Regions from separate parts of the Homo sapiens genome. Here region 2 is linked to region 1. Evidence: promoter capture Hi-C in 16 types of primary human blood cells and fetal thymus (Javierre and others, 2016). All regions are on one chromosome and are shown on one strand. Each heading gives the region's core, a stretch centred on a gene start or on the middle of the fragment in contact. The rest is flanking DNA. Distances are from core to core; before and after follow the strand shown. Region 1 holds the start of LUM (lumican). Region 2 has its middle 43 kb from the start of PLEKHG7.

Region 1 (2,771 bases), core at 200-2,699:
TTCTAACAAGAGCTCAGATTATAGAATTTGATACACTCAAAATTAATACATAGCATTGTTTTAAGAATCCTCTTATAACAAGATCACTTAATTATATTCGATTGATTTGTCTTTTTTTCTTAATTCCTTATAAATTTATTCAGTTACTTTGTTGAAACTGAGGCCTATCAATAATTTTCTTAAAATAATATTAGGAAAAATGTTATGTTTATGAATCATCTTACAATTCCATTAGTTACTTTCAAGAAGATTACTTTTTGTTTTTGAACACTGCTATTACAAAAATAAGCCATTTATTCTAATAGTCTTTTTTTCGGACAAATGCAGTATTAGTCATGGAGTTAATTTTCCACAAGTCTCACTGCTAAAATGTGATATAGTTATTTTTAAAGACAAAAATACAATGTGACAACTTATATTAAAATATATTGGTGTAAAAGTTCTTATAAACATGAGGAAATGAACATTTTAGAAAAAAATCTCATAAATATATCTGATAAAATCACAAAATGAAATAGACAAGGATTTAAGTACATCTCTCATTTGCTGAAACCATGCATCAGGAGCTGATAATGAAAGATATATCCAGCCAGGCCTTTGGGAGATTATAACTTTGAATAACTTTTAACTTTGAAAAAAAATTACTAGCATGCAATGAAAGATTCTTGCCTTGTGATACTTTTAGTATAAATTTATTTTTTTCTCTGTTCTTTTATGTTTTTTGGCATTAAGCTATAGAATGCTCTCCCCAAGTAAGGTTTTGGGTGAATTCCTAAACGAAATCCACAAAATAAAAAACAGGCAAGACTTTGCTGATTGGTTCCAGACCTGAATAACATAAAATGAGTCTCCTTAGCATTAGAAGTAAACTTGAAATGTTGATATTTATCATGTGTATCCAAGTGTATATGAAGCATATTTTATATTTTTAAAACTAATGTAAGCTACCCTCATGGCCAAAAAATTAAGTTAGTCCAAGTAAATCAATATTGATTTCAAAAGTGATAGGCAAAGGGATTCAATTCCTCTGAGTCTGTTCATTTGCGTTTTCCTGAAATTATTTGCCCTGCTTATGATTTCTGAGATCTTTAGATAAACATGATAGTTGGCTGAGCACATTGCACTTAATTGTTGCCACAGCCACAGATGTAAAGAGGCTTGTAAGAAAAATGTTCTCACAGTGAGCTTCCTTATTTGAAGCAGGACTCAATTCTTGGTTAAAAGCTATGGTATTTGAGCTAGTTAAACACATATCTCTCTCCCATTCCATAGGGAATGAGCTGGGCTGTCCTTTCTCCCCACGTTCACCTGCACTTCGTTAGAGAGCAGTGTTCACATGCCACACCACAAGATCCCCACAATGACATAACTCCATTCAGAGACTGGCGTGACTGGGCTGGGTCTCCCCACCCCCCTTCAGCTCTTGTATCACTCAGAATCTGGCAGCCAGTTCCGTCCTGACAGAGTTCACAGCATATATTGGTGGATTCTTGTCCATAGTGCATCTGCTTTAAGAATTAACGAAAGCAGTGTCAAGACAGTAAGGTAAGTGCTGTTTTAACTATTGCACTGGGGATGTTAACTGTTTGGGACAGCGTTTTTTGTAACAGGAACAGGAAAAATTCCAGAGCAATTTTGCCAATTGCTATTCAACAGCAAATCCACAGTTCTGAGCATTTAGTTTCACATTTTGTTAATATGTTTTCCATGATTTATAGATTTGAGATTTTATACAGTATATGCTGTATTGCTTGGCAAGAGAAGTTATAAAAAGTTTCAAGGTTAGAATGAGAAAATAGTTAAAGTAGACACAGTGAAAAAATATAGAAATTAATATGTTTGTTATGTATGCTAGTTAGTTATATATGTTAGTATTGGACCCTAATACTGGAGCAAAGAAAAGTCATTTTAATCAGCATTCAAAATATCTTTTAATAAGCATATTGTGACAATTTGTTATAATTTACAATAAACGTTCTATGTTATAAAACATGAGCTAAAAGATTTAGGAACTCTTATGGATTATTTATTTCTGTTTTGTTAATTTAAAAAATTTGTTTCTTGGATATATGCCTTAAGGAACGAGTTTTTTAAAAAGTTCTGGGAAATGATTTCGTTTTTGAAAACAGCATTTTCTCTATAGCCACAGGTATTTGAAAAAACTGAGGGTAGTACAGTGTGATTTTGCCTCATAGTGGAGTCATTATATGGTTGCAAACTCTCATTCAATTCAGCATCCTTGTTTTTACTTTGCCAAAAAATATGGAAGCATTTTTCATTACTATTTAATACTCACATTATAGTTGCCATATTTTGGTGTATAGTAAATTTAAAATAGCTTATTAATAAAGCAAGACAAATCTTTACAGTATTTACATTCTATAACTTAAAATAACTCTGGGAATATGTCATCACGTTCTTTTTAGTGCTATGCAATTATTATTATGGCCAAGTTCTGTCAGCAAAATTAAATGCCCCCATTAAAATCTTAGAGAGTAATTTACTGAGAATCTGGCTACATGTTACCTTATGTCAGCAATCAAAGTATTTCTAAAAGCTGTTTTATAACGTTCCATCTGATCTGAAATAAAGTGCCTTACAATTTCAAATTAAAACAAATAAAAGACGTTTTCAGTTTCTAACCCCAAAGATCCTGCTTATCCCAAACTACTTTGATCCAAAAGCTTGTAATCATACTTTCATAGAAAGATATAATATTCTCAGTTATCTATTAGAATGTAGATCTTTCGTCACATTAATGATTTATCTCC
Region 2 (2,700 bases), core at 167-2,666, 1.5 Mb before region 1:
AGTACAATATCATTACCACATCTCACAAAAGGGGCAATAATTCCTCAATATTGTCTAATACTCATACCATTTTAAATTTCCTCAGTTATCTTAAGAAGTTGGTTTGGTTTCAATCAGCCTCCAAAAAGGTCTACATACAGCATATGGTTGGGGTGTATTTTGAGTATTTCCTGATATAGGTGACTATATCAATTAGTTTTAGCTATTAAAGCACTACAAAGCTCAATGGCATAAATCAAGCTTGTCCAACCCATGGCCTACGGGACCACATGCAGCCCAGCATGGCTTTGGATGTGGCCCAACACAAATTTGCAAACTTTCTTAAAACATTATGAGATTTTTTTTGCAATTTTTTTAAAGCTCATCAGCTATCCTTAGTGTATTTTATGTGTGGCCAAAGGCAATTCTTCCCTTGTGGTCCAGGGAAGCCAAAAGATAGGATACCCCTGGTGTAAATCAACATCCCATTTTGGAAGAATTTGTGGTTTGGCGATTTGAGCTGGGCTCAGGTGTGAGAAGGTGCTAGGTCAGCTGGAGCCTGGCTGGTGTGTCGTGGTGGTTGGGGTACAAAGCTTACCTGGGATGGTTCATCTTTGTCCCAGGTGGTCTCTCATCCCCCAGTAGGCTACCCTGGGTTTACTCACCTGGTGTCAGGTTTTTTTTGTAGCAATTAGGAAATCCCAAAAGGTCTCTTAAAGCCTAGGCTTGAACTGCAATGCTGCTTTGTCACATTCCATTGGCCAAAGAAGGCACAAGACCAACTCCACCTGTTGATGGGAGAAATTGCAAAGCTATATTGCAAAGGACGTAGCTGTTAAGGAAGGGAATAATTTGTGAAAATTTTGGCAATCTACTATAGCCACTTACCAAACTTGTTTTGATTTCCATAACCCTTAAAATCTGTCAAAGAATACATATCTCCTAAAGCTTACATTTTAACTTCAAACTATTCTTAAATGAATAGAAATTGATCACTAATAAATTTTTAAGAAATATTGTCATTCAACACAGCCATATGATCTTTTTGTTCTTGTACAAAAAATTTTCTCATTTCCTTTAAGTGGTATAAAGGCATTTATTTCAATGCCTGAAAAAGTTTCATACAATGTATAACTAGAACATAATAAAAAGTTCGAGGGCCAGGTGTGATGGCTTATGCCTGTAATCCCAGCACTTTGAGAGGCCAAGGTGGGAAGATCACATGAACCCAGGAGTTCAAGACCAGGCTGGGCAATATGGTGAAACCTTGTCTCTACTAAAAAGACAAAAAATTAGCTGAGCATGGTGGCATGTGCCTGTAGTCCCAGCTACTCAAGAGGCTGAGGCGGGAGGATTGCTTGAGCCCAGGAGGTTGAAACTGCAGTGAGGCATGAATGGGCCATTACACTCCAGTCTGGGCAACAGAGTGAGACCCTGTTTCAAAAAAAAAAAAAAAGTTTTGATTCATTTTAATTTCAACATGTAAAATTGTAATGTTTTGTTTTGTTATTTTTCTCTTTCCAGAGGGTTACTAAATACATTAAACTGTTGGGAAGGGCATTGTATTTCTCTGGTCCAGGGCAATAATTCAATAGGGATCAAGGAAAGCTCTTTGTAAAAGCTATCTATAGGACAAGGGCTTAATTTATGTGGTGGTTTCTGCTAAATACCTTGCATTAAAGAAAAACTACCAACTGTTAAAGAGCAATGGCAGGTCAACTTACTTTGGTAGTAAAGGGACGTGATGATGAGAAGGTTGATCAAACAGGTGTAAATCTTTTCTGAATCTACAGTTTTAATTTTGCCTGATGATAAAATTATAGGCTTTATCATGATGAACTGCGGCCGGCTCATACTAGCTTGTGAGAGTCACTGGCCTCATATCTTTCTAATTCCATGTTCAGTAAAGTCATGTTGGAAGCTTGATATTGGCCAGAGTGAGAGTATTTACACCATGGAAACTGGCAAATGCTACAAAAGAGGGCCTCTTTTTGTTTTGTTTTTTTTTTTGATGGTCAGTTGTTAAACATTTGTAGCATACCACTGGCCTTTACCCACATAAAAAACAACAGGTACTGCTTTCCAGGCATATTTAAAAAGAGTTTCTTTTGCAATGAAGGACAGTAATCATGGAAGGAGGGGAGGGCTTCCCTTGGCATCTTTTCCATCCATATGTGTCTCCAGATTGCTGGTAGCCTGGTTGAGTATGAGCAAAGATTAAGAAATGAGAAGCAGAGACCAGGGAAAGGAACAGGGAATGTGCCTGGTCCTTTGCTTACGCTATTGACTCTGACTTTCATCGGGCTCAGGCCAGACATGCTCTTCAGCTTGTTTCTAAGTGCTCAACATCCTCTGAGTCTTTTAACAAGAAATGTAGAAATGGAAGCAATTCTTCATATGTTACGGAATTCAGCTACTTGCCATGCAGCCCTGATGAAATCCCTTACCTGCCACAGTGTTTCCCATCTGCGAATCAGAGATGGGAAATCTGCTCCTCCTCATTGTGCAAGTAGTTATGGTTAAAGCCAGGTTAGGTTGCCTCTCCCTGTAGAGTAATAAATGGAATAGGATGAGATAATTCTTAAGAGTCCCTCTGAAGAGGGCTCTCCATGGAGAAGGAAAAGGAGAAGGAAATTTGGAAGCCGTCGGGTAAGACCTTGTTGAAACTGTAGTTCATAGAATAGCAGCATTGGTGTCACCTGGGAGTTTGTCAGAAACGCA

What was found. Contacts are between HindIII fragments. The CHiCAGO score rates a contact against its expected background, and 5 or more counts as called.
Region 2: a contact is called between a fragment that was not itself captured here and the fragment with the promoter of LUM in region 1, in 2 of 17 cell types (fetal thymus and total CD4 T cells). The highest score is 6.0, in fetal thymus.

Annotation. Positions count from the first base shown.
Region 1 is chr12:91,110,172-91,112,942 of GRCh38, reverse strand. LUM (lumican) reads left to right here and starts at 1,449. Exons shown (of 3, transcript NM_002345.4): 1 at 1,449-1,545. The HindIII fragment of the contact is 5,015 bases long and covers 1-2,686 here.
Region 2 is chr12:92,658,265-92,660,964 of GRCh38, reverse strand. No RefSeq gene overlaps it. Among named protein-coding and RNA genes, the nearest start is that of PLEKHG7, 43 kb to the left of the region's middle. The HindIII fragment of the contact is 973 bases long and covers 930-1,902 here.